Linked DNA regions of Homo sapiens: region 2 is linked to region 1. The links are contacts of gene promoters, found by promoter capture Hi-C in human tissues and cell types (Jung and others, 2019). All regions are on one chromosome and are shown on one strand. Each heading gives the region's core, a stretch centred on a gene start or on the middle of the fragment in contact. The rest is flanking DNA. Distances are from core to core; before and after follow the strand shown. Region 1 holds the start of NME9 (NME/NM23 family member 9). Region 2 overlaps ARMC8 (armadillo repeat containing 8).

What was found. Contacts are between HindIII fragments. The study calls those that stand out against the background at their distance.
Region 2: a contact is called between a fragment that was not itself captured here and the fragment with the promoter of NME9 in region 1, in 4 of the 25 tissues and cell types used here (aorta, mesendoderm cells, pancreas and 1 more).

The regions. Positions count from the first base shown.
Region 1 is chr3:138,326,743-138,332,554 of GRCh38, reverse strand. NME9 (NME/NM23 family member 9) reads left to right here and starts at 2,704. Exons shown (of 11, transcript NM_001349018.2): 1 at 2,704-3,252. The coding sequence starts at 3,220. LOC124909438 (a long non-coding RNA gene) reads right to left here and starts at 2,622. Exons shown (of 2, transcript XR_007096113.1): 1 at 2,385-2,622. The HindIII fragment of the contact is 18,429 bases long and covers 1-5,812 here.
Region 2 is chr3:138,238,708-138,244,519 of GRCh38, reverse strand. It overlaps ARMC8 (armadillo repeat containing 8), which reads right to left. Exons shown (of 22, transcript NM_001363941.2): 10 at 4,992-5,052; 11 at 2,537-2,737. Among named protein-coding and RNA genes, the nearest start is that of ARMC8, 54 kb to the right of the region's middle. The HindIII fragment of the contact is 4,392 bases long and covers 100-4,491 here.

The sequences.
Region 1 (5,812 bases), core at 1,455-3,954:
AGGTTTTGCATTAAAATAAAACAAACAAAAAAGTACATCACTGAGGGAAGGGCTGATTAAAAATAGATACATTTGAAAAAATCTGACTTTTGGATAATAAATAAAAACACTGACCCAGCGGGGAGCAGTGGCTCATGCCTGTAATCCCAGCACTTTGGGAGGCTGAGGCAGGCGGATCATAAGGTCAAGAGATCTAGACCATCCTGGCCAACCAACGGGGTAAAACCCCATCTCTACTAAAAATACAAAAATTAGCTGGGCATAGTGCCACATGCCTGTAGTCCCAGCTACTCGGGAGGCTGAGGCAGGAGAATTGCTTGAACGCGGGAGGCGGAGGTTGCAGTGAGCTGAGATCACGCCACTGCACTCCAGCCCAGGTGACAGAGCAAGACTCTGTCTCAAAAAAAAACCAAAAAAACAAAAACAACAACAACAAAAAAAACCATTCACCTGTGTCACAAAACATGTAAAAGATGGAAGTTTTATTAAAAAGCAGGAGTGGCCCAAGGTGATTCATCTGGGAAAAAACTGATGAGGTTCCATGTTGTCCAAACTGTAATTTTTTTTTTCTTTGAGATGGAGTCTTGTTCTGTCACCCAGGCTGGAGTGCAGTGGCACGATCTTGGCTCACTGCAACCTCCGTCTTCTGGGTTCAAGTGATTCTCCTGCCTCAGCCTCCCAAGTAGCTGGGATTATAGGCATGCACCACCAGGCCCAGTTATTTGATACTTTTTTTTAGTAGAGACAGGGTTTCACCATGTTGGCCAGGCTCCTGCCCTCAAGTGATCCACCTGCCTCGGCCTCCCAGAGTGCTGGGATTACAGGCGTGAGCTACTGCACCCTACCCAAACTGTACACTTTTGAAAGTGAGAGGGGTTGCTATTAATAATTGCATGGGACAACAGGTGAAAAGTGGGGGTGTCCCAGGCAAACTGGGACATGTGGTTTACCTAAATTTGTTTCTGAGGTTTAGCCTGGCAAAGATGTGAGTACATTTTGTAATAGAGACCACATGGTAAGAAATTTAACCCTTTCAGAAAGAATAAATGTCACTATCTTTCCATGTGCTGGCAAGAGGAATTTAGCATCTGATTTGAATTTTATTTTGGAAACTAAATTCTAAGGGAGATTCCACACCATTCAAGAGCTTCAGCAACCACCACCTTGTGGCAATGAACATGATTTGCATCTAGTCAACTCAGTTTGCAATGTGGTGTCTTAAGGACTGCCTGTGGCTCTGCGTAATATTATCATGGAACTGAATATTGCCATGGGACTGAATGCAAGAAAAGAGTAGGTGGATTCGGAGCTGAAGTGGGAGAAGGCAGGATGACAGGTAGGAAGATGTTCGGTCTCCAGTATACCCATCGCCCTGTACTTCACAGAGGGTTGCTGGGTACCTCATGGCCAAACAGGGTATCAGCACTCCCTGGATGGAAATCATTTGGTGTATGCTTCACTTAGGAAGAATTGATATCTTAACAATATTAATTCTTCCTATCCATGAACACGGAATATTTCTTCATTTATTTAAATCTGTGAGATCTCTTTCATCAGCTGTGATTGATTCCTAGTTTAATTCTATTGCAGTCAGAGAACATACTTTGTTCTATCCTTTTAAATTTGTTAAGCTATGTTTTATGGCCTAGATTGTGGTCTATCTCAGTGAATGTCCCATGTGAGCTTGAGAAAGAATCTATATTCCGCTGTTGTTGAACTAAATATTGCATAAATGTCAATTAGATCAATTTGATATTTTTCAGTTCAACTATATCCTTGCTCATTTGCTTCTGCTGGATGTATTAATTACTTTTTAAAAATGGTATGAAAGCATTCTATTATAATACTGAGTTTACCTATTTTTCCTTGCAGTTTTATCTTCTTTTGCCTCACATATTTCGGTGCTCTGTTTTTAAGTACATACATATTAAGTATTGTTATGTCTTCCCAAATAACTGATCCCTTTAACTTTATGTAATGTCCCTGTTTATACCTGATAAATTTCCTTGTTCTGAAGTCTGCTTTTCTTGAAATTAACATACCTACTTCAGCTATTTTTTTAATTAGTGTCAGCCTGGTATAGCTTTCTCTATCCTTTTGCTTTTAATGTATTTTCTTGTGGATAACACACGATTGGGCTTTGTTTGTTTTTGAAATCCATTCTGACAATCTCTTTTTTAATTGGTGTAATCAGATTATTCACATTTAAAGTGGTTATTGATACAGTTGGATTAATATCTACAATGTCTGTAACTGTTTTGTATGTGTCTCACTTGACTTTCATATCTAATTTTGAATTTGTAATTTCATATTCTTTGCCTTAAAGAGAACGCTTGCAGATCCCTCAAAACCTGGAGACACCCCCCACCTTGCACACATTATACCGGTATGTGATGGTAGAAAAGCTGCACATCAGTCTTGGCAGGCAGGGCAGGAGGGATGCAGGGATTCACAGATGCGACTGTGCAACGCACAGATGCACTGGGTCTTTGCTTGGTGGGTTCGAAGCCTCCAGACGCTGACAAACACTGCAGCCAATGAGTGGGTTCCTATGGTCCGATATGGAGGGCAAGGGGCGGGACTCCCTCCTGCCTCTCCCTGGCTGGGTTCAGAGCCTCCGCGGAGAGACTGCGTTGGGCCCAGAGTGGGCGTGGCTTACGTGTCCGCCGGCTTTCCTGGCAGGCCTGGCGGGGGGGCCAGGTTGCCATGACGACCGCGGCTAGGTCGCGGCAGACTCGGTTGGTGACTCCGGGCGCGTCGAAGATCTTGTACCTGTCGTTCGCAGTGGCTCACTTTCCCAGTAATCCATAAGAACAGCAGGGATAACAGGGTCCCATGTCGTTTTTTTGTCAGAATTCCTCGACTGGCGACCCTGTGCCCGACAGGCTGCACCGCGCCCGGCGCACTGACTCCGGCCTCTGCGCGCGCCCCCTGGCCGGCTCCGGGGTGGGGAGGGGGCTTCGCAGATCCCCAGAAAACCGCCCGGCGAGCCACGAGCCCGTGGACTGCAGGCTCCGCTTCCTCGCGGGGTGTTCACTTTGTATCAGTGTGCTGATTTGCCGCCAGTTAGAAGCACCTTAAAAAGGGGCCGGGGGCCGTAGGAGGGGGGCTTGTCTGAAGGAGGCTCTGGGCTTGCTGATCCACGCAGCGGTTTGTCGCGAGGCTGCGGGGGAACGGCCCACGGCCGCGGTAACAGGGCTTCGTCTTCTTTGCAGAGCCATGGGCAGCAGGAAGAAGGAAATTGCCCTGCAGGTAAGCCTCAAGGGGCGCTAGCTTCCAGCTCTGGGTTGGGCTCGGGGAAGAGGAGGGTGATTAGAGCGGGGTTGCAGTATAAAAGTGACATTCTGTTTGCCAGCAGTACGTGACAGTGTTCTCAAACTTGAGTGATGTACCCTTCCGTCTTAAAGGGACAAAACTTATCTTGGAACCCCAGTGATGACAAATTTTACGCAAACAAAATTAATGCAAACAAAACTGAGTAGAAGCTGTTTACATTTATAGTGCTTATACAACCATAAAACCTAAACATGCATTAAATAAAACTATAAACTAAGAAAATACGAATCAACATAACTCGATGTGACCGTTATTTTGTTCTTGTTGAAATACAACTGCAGCTTGCACAGAGAATACAGTATAGGTTCTTTTGACTTTGGGCATGAGTCTGTAACTGTGTGCTCTGTGGAGACCCAGTTTTCCCACCACTGTTCTCATCAAATTTCACTTATTAACAAATATGTTTTGAGATATATTATGTGCTGGACATATGTTATATAGAGTGTCTTACTTCATTTGCATGTGGGACAAGTGAATTCAGAAGCCAGCAGCTGCTCTTCTTCTTGGTCCTGGACAATAGATAGTGGTTGATTCTGAAGTGATGGTAAAAACATGCAGGCATAGACCCTGGAATTAGGAGAGAGTGCTTGGTCATAAGGAGATCAGCTGGATGATCTGCAACATGGGAACATTTTAAAACGAACTTAAAATGCCTCATCATCAGCTGGCCCCAGTAAGATGCATACCAAGGCTACAGCGCCTCCTAGATAATAGAGCATTAGTGGTTTTGAGACATCTGGTTTCTCTCTTATTGTCCTCAGCAGGACCAGCAGTTTGCATGTGGATTTCAAAAGCCTAGTGGTTTAAAAAAGAGGAAAGGGGAAAGCAGCATCATTCTAAGGGTACCCCATGCTGGGGGTGGGAGGGGTGTGGGGTGGGGTGGGGTGGGATTTTTAGACTGGAAGTCAGAAGACCTGATGTAGTTCTTGTGTCCTCTATAGCCAACTGTGTCTTTGACTACATCACATAACCTCTCCAGGCTATAGCTTGCCCATCTATGGAATGAGGATGTTGTGTGAATTATCCCTAAGGGCCTTCTTCCAGCCTTGATATTCTAGGATTCTAGAGTCAGAAGCCACTTCATACGTGAATGTTCTGGTTGAAGTAAATTCTGATCAACTGGTCCTACCATTCATTGCTGTGTGACTCATTTCCTCAACTCTCTGGCCTCCGTATCCTTTACGTAGACAGGAGGGATGATACCTGTCCTGTAACGCCTGCAGAGCTGTGATGAGACTCCTTTAGACACTTCCTGGCTGGTCTGATGTTGTCTGTGGTGTCTCTAATGTTATTGCCCCATATTATGGTCATTTCATGTGTTGATGCCCTAGAGCTCCTATGGGGGTAATAACTTTTGTTAGCAATGTTGTTATTTTTTCATGTGTATTACTCAGAGCTCTGAGTACAATGCAGTACTCAAACTAAGTGCTCCCTCCTGCTGAAAGGAGGAGAGCGAGCAGCCTCCCCTCCCGTCTTCTACTGAGGCATCTGTGTAAAGGTCACCTCTCTATAAGGTAAACCCCTTGAAAGCAATGCCTAAAGTTGGCCAACCCAGGAACCTTGTCCTCTCTCTCAGCAAGGTTATTCAGGGTTCCCTTTATAACTGAGACAGGCAGAAATCACAGGACATCAAGGGACAGTCTGGGTAAAAGGTGCCACACATTCCCTATTCATTCCCTACCAAATGCAGGCTTAGTGAAGTCCGGATAGTTCCCACACTGTTCCACTCTTGCCTGGCTCCCAGGGCTGAGATTCTTCAACTGCCCAGAGTCCTGGCCCCAGAGCTGGTGGGACTCACTCCATGACAGGGGTGGGCCACAGAGAGCTGCTGGTGACTTAAGTCTGAGCCTCTGGGTAGGGGTGTGGGGCCCTTCCGAACGCTTCTATCACCTTCCTCAGGACTGTAGTTGTGGGCCCAGGGTTATGTCAGTCCAACTCTCTTATTTCATTTAAGACATCAAGAAGACTTTTCTGGGTTTCTTTTTCTTCTACTTTTCATTGAAACAAAAAAAGTAAGGACTATGCTTCCTTAAAAGAGAGACTTTTTTTTTTTTTTTTTTGAGACAGTTTCATTCTGTCCTGTCGCCCAGGCTGGAATGCAGCGGCATGATCTCATCTCAGTGCAACCTCCACCTCTCACGTTCAAGCAGTTCTCATGTCTCAGCCTCCCGAGTAGCTGGTAAAACAGGTATGCGCCACCACGCCCGGCTAACTTTTTTTTTTTTTTTTTTTTTTTTTTAGTAGAGGCAGGGTTTCACCATGTTGGCCAGGCAGGTCTGAAACTTCTGGCCTCAAGTGATCTGCCCGCCCTGGCCTCCAAAAGTGTTGGGATTACAGGCATGAGCAACCACGTTCGGCCAAAAAAGGAACTTTTAATAGAGGATTAGCAGTTGTTACATGTTTCTTGCCCTTATTGCCAATAATGCATCCTATCTTTTTTAGAGGGACACAGACCTTAGCATACCTGTATTAAGAA
Region 2 (5,812 bases), core at 1,046-3,545, 88 kb after region 1:
GATCATGAGGTCAGGAGATCTAGACCATCCTGGCTAACACGATAAAACCCTGTCTCTACTAAAAATACAAAAAAATGAGCTGGGCGTGGTGGCAGGCGCCTGTAGTCCCAGCTACTTGGGAGGCTGAGGCGGGAGAATGGTGTGAACCCAGGAGGCAGAGGTTGTAGTGAGCCGAGATCGCGCCACTGCACTCTAGCCTGGGCAACAGAGCGAGACTACATCTCAAAAATAAATAAATAAATAAAAATAAATAAAATAAAAAGCTTTTAGAAACAGAGAACCCATTGTGAAAATGCTTAACAAACCGTATACTATGGTAACCATTATTATCTATTACAGTTATCTGAGATTTATGTTGGGTATGGGTTTTTTCAAGAACATTATCAAAATTATCAGCATGAAGCAATTAATGGTATCTTTAAACATGCATAACTAATTATCAACTCTTCTATAAACTTGATCACCAAACTACTGTAAAGATAAAACAGAAGCATATTTTCAGGATACTTTCAATGACTGACTATGACCAAGTAACTATACAAAGTCTACCAATAATATAAATAACCTCGTAACTAAAAGCCTTAATGTAATCATCCAAATGAATACCACTTTTCCCAAAGAAGTTACTTTGGAAAGGTTCACTCATCCAATGATGTAGGTGTTGTTCATAACATTCTGAGACCCTCTTTTGAAACTTCCTAAAGAGCTAACTGGTATTATTAGCTAGAAAACACTGACAGTGGTATAGCTTGATCAATGATGAGACTTTTAGTTGTCACTGACTGTGTGTGAAGATGGAGAAATTCAGTTGGGTAATATAACGTAGGTAACAAAAAATTCCACAGAAAGCAAAAGACAATATATATATTTTACATATATATATAATTTGGGGTGGCTCTGAAGGCAATTCTTAATAGTTCCAAAACTTCTGTTCAAAGCAGACACTGATGGATTATAGGAAGAACTTCCCAATACAGAATACTCACTTTGATAAGTTCTAAAAGTATCTACTCTTAAAGTCTTAACTACATTCTAGTCATAAATTAAGATATAATACTGACTTGAACTAACATATCATGAAAATCACAAATTTATTAACATGTGAAGATTTCTCTTTACGGGTCTAGTGTCTATACTTTTCGGGTCAGAAACCTTTGGATAATCCATCATCAAAAATAAAGATGACAAAACAAACTATTACTCAAGTTTGGTATTACGATGTCATTTTTAAGGATTATTGTTGTTACAGTTTTACTCTGATGGAAATGAAATGGAAAAACTAACAGAAGGGATAATCTACGTACTAGTTAAATGATTTGCATATGCATAGGCTACATGTTCTTAAAATTGTTTCCTTACTCTCATGGCCATCAAAACATTTTATTTGCCTTCCTGGGGTGGTCAACTCAGGGCGTTCATGAGGCAGTAGCTAAGGGTTGCTCATGTATCTTTGTATTGGTAAGATACAGTGTCAGTGTGAAAAAATGACCAGAAGGAAAACAGACAAGGCAACTGGTTAAATGTATGTAACCCATCACTTCTACTGGAAAAACACCACTACTGAAAGAAGAGCAGACACATAAGTTTAATACCCAGAGAGTAGAGTACATTACTAATACAAATACCAGTGAAGGTTATTTTAGGCCCTTCTTAAGACAGAGTAAAGATATACCCTTAATAGTTTGCTTTATTTTCAAAGTTAAAAGCCAAATGAACAACTGCCTACCAAATGAGGTTTTTTGAAACTCAAAAGCATGAGGGAGAGGTCAAAAGGAGAATAGTTACCATTGGAACCACTGGCATGAAAAATACAGTTACATTCATGAAACAGTACTGGCTACTAATTAAGAGGCAATGTTCTCTCTACCATGACCTCCTTGAATAAACTTTCTCTTACAGAATGTTCATCTCCTATGCTTAAAGAAATGGATAGGGCAAACAGGCTGAGATGCAACAAGTCAAAATAAATACCGATCTATTCTAAGGAACTTAGGTTTTCAGAAAAAGCACAATTTGGCCTTTTTGGTCCCAAATTCAAGATTAAATGATGCTTTAGCTGTCACTAGCAGGCCCAAAGCACAGTATGAAACTGGGAAAAAGAGAAGATAGGGAAAGGTAACAAAATAGACTGTGGTGGAAAGTAACATGGGACAACTTAGTCTCCTGTAACAAAAAGATTACTCCTGACCTAAAGAATGAGAATGTAACAACAGAGATGATTCCATGACCAAGAATAAGATTATACGGTTATGTCAATACCCAGCTTGGAGAATCCACTACTTTTGAGGTTTAGTTGGGGAGTTAGGATGCAATTTTCTTTATTGCTTATCTGCTCAGTAAAAACTTTCTGACAATAAACATTAAACAACTTGGATTCAAAAATTCACAAAGCAATATTATCTATGTTACCAAAGATAAAAGAACCTTTATTTAAAAGGGCTTTAAGCTGTAGTTATCAATTGGTTCAAAACTGTGAACAGTAAGAAAAACTTTAGAAAAATCTCCCTTGAGCTGCTAAAAAAGGAAAATAACATACCCTTTTAATATCAGTGATGGCACTCACTGAGCTGGGATACTTGAAATAATCAGCAAGCATGGCAATGAGGTGATCAGTTATGCTAGCGATTCTCTGTAGCTCAACATCTGGTTCAATCAGATAGGCAAGTGTCTCAGCTCCTTCAACTCTCTCCTCTAGTAATCTCTCCTTACTGCACATTCGAACCAAACAAGGTAATGTCTGAAAGGTAGTGAGATTAATTATTTGCTTTTTGGTAAAGGTAAAAGCTTAAGCATATAGTGACTGAATCAACTCAATAGCTTTTATCAGGAGTAATGTTTATGATCATATATTTCCTTTACTGACTTCTAGAGAATAAAAGATTTTTTTAAAATGCAAAAACAAGCAAAATTCAGTACACATTAATAATTTGTACTGGCACATTAAACTCTATTCGTACGTCAAAGTATATTAATACAAATTCTAATTAGGCTTTTGGGACCGATAAGACAAGTTTTATTGTACAACTTTGTAAAAGACATTTAAGAATCCCTAACAAATCATGTCTGATGGTTCTGCCCTATCTATCTATTTATTTACCTAAAAAAGACCCAGCAGTTTAATCAGGAATGATTTTGCCTTAGGAAAAGTATGCTATCTCTTCCTTAGTGAGTAATATCGTTTATTTTTTGGTTTGGGGAGTCATACCTACAGTTGCCAAAACAAAATACAGCTTTAAAACTGCAGTGATCTTACCATTACTCAGATTCCACCAGTTCTACTATAATGCAACTGAAATGTATCACAGTTGCTAGGTTTTCCCAGTAACTTGCTGGAATTAGCAGTGGTATCCATGAGTCCAATTTTACTTCTGAGGTCCCTCAAAAATCTTGGCAATGGTTTGGTAACTTATCTACATTAGGTTCTCAATAAAAATATTACAGACATTTACTATTTCTTTTTCTTTTTTTTTGAGACGGAGTCTCGCTCTGTCGCCCAGGCTGGAGTGCAATGGCACGATCTCGGCTCACTGCAACCTCTGCCTCCTGGATTCAAGCAATTCTCCTGCCTCAGCCTTCTGAGTAGCTGGAATTACAGGCACCCACCACCACTCCTGGCTAATTTTTTATTTTTAGTAGAGATGGGGATTCACCAGGTTGGCCAGGCTGGTCTCGAACGACATTTACTATTTCTAAGCCTGACGGATCCACTTGAAAGGACAATGTGGAAGTATAAATTGAAATGTTATCATTATAGAAAGTCTTCCTCAAATACTGCAGGCAACTGTGCTTTGCTCTTTTATATATAATAAGTTCCTATTATATCTTTTACCACAGAGCTTAGCACTTCATCGTTCACTACTAATTTCCTATTAGGCTAGTAGAAGCTTTATAATTCAACCCTAGGTTTCCAAGGGGAAGGCCCTATTCTTTTTTCCCTAACATTACTAGTTACTAATATTTATTGATACCATAAATTCATGAATTATGTAATCTAATGCTCATGACTACTATGTGAAGAATATACTACTAACATTTTACCAATGCAGAAAAAGAGGAAGGTTAGAGAAGTAAATAAATCAAGATAAATGCTATGGAAGTCCGTGGCACTCTATGAAGAGTTGTTTACTTAGGGAGTGTTCAGATCTCATTAAATTAATTCTCTTCCCCAAAGACTAAAGCAAATATTAGTCTTCTTTGTGCTCTTTTATCCTTGGGATCACCTTTTGAACAATGATAATGTGAGATCTCATATTTATAAAATGACACATCATCAATTTACTTATACTTAATTTTTTATAGCTAATAAGACATTTTAATGTATTTAATATATTGTTATCCTCACAATAACCCTGTGCATAGATGAGCAGGAATTATTGCTTCAATTTTCATAATCTGGAGTCCGAGGCATCAAAAGAATAAAGGATGTACAGTCAGAGGTGGGAGTGCTAAAACCAGAATCCAGGTTTTAGGACTTTTAGGGCTGGTCTTTTCTCCAGGTTTTTCTAAATTCAAGTTGTATATGACATATCACAATGACAATGCTTGTTTTCATGTGTTATCTACTTATTCTCTTTCATTATGCCTTTTGATTATCAGCTATGAGAATGATATAAAGTCTTTTTCTGCAAAAGTGGCAAATCGTCTGCCTCTAAAACTGTAGTACAAATTTAATGACAATCAAGAACGAAATATATTTTCTGTTTCACCTGAATTGTACACTTTTACAATTTCCACATCCTCCTAATTACCATAAAATGAAAGGCTGTGACAATGAAATAATTATTTCACGCTGACTTTCGAAACACATCTAAAATCAATTTTTAAAAACTATATGACATCCACTGAAAAGAAAGCATGGTCTTTCAATATTATTCTACGCCATGCACATATATCATAATGATAAATGTGTAAAATGAAATATGAGTATCAATACTGATATTTAACACATAACTGGATAATTTTCACATTTTAAAGATAATTAATTAGCTTACCTTTAATACAATACAGTTATCATCTGTCCGAATTGCTCCAGCTCTACACATGTAAGTTAAACTGGAATAAGACAGCAGAAAATAAGTTTTTGCTTGGAGTTTAAAGCTTTAAATGAAAAATTATTTGCCTTTAAGATTTTATTAAAAAATCGAAAACCAAATAATATCACTTATCTTGAGAGTGAAGATTTTGACAATTCGCTTTTCGGAGGTTCAGTCAATTTAATAGTCAAAGAAAACTAACTGACAAATACAGATGGTAAGCCAGATATTTAAAAAAACAAAATGAAACAAAAACCTACCAAATAGTTTTAAAAATAAATAACCTAATGATGGACACATTTTGAGGCTAGGTGCTGGGCACATGTTGTATTCTTTATACTTCAGAATTTTCCATAATAAAAAGGGAAAAATGTTCAAAATGAAACATAAGATGAACACATTATCTCAGTTTAAATGAAGTTGGAATATTCTAACTCCAAATGCAGTAGAAGTATCACAGAAGAGGCATTTAACTTGTAACACAGCTATCCATCAGAAATGAACTATTCAGAGGTTAACAGCAGGGGCTTTGGGAACGAGTCAATAATTTGGTTCTACTGAAAAACAATTATAAGCTGCCTTTGAATAAGAATATAATTAATTTTTATTCCCCAGGCAGGCGCTGAACATTAAGCGCTTCAGAAATTTAAATTAATGAATTTCCTTTTTGATTACATTCCTTTAGCAAGATGGGGGAAAAAAATTAAAACATCTCACGTTGGCTTCTACCGAAAGTTATAAACAGGTAAAATCATTTTACTTATATTGTAGACGGCTGA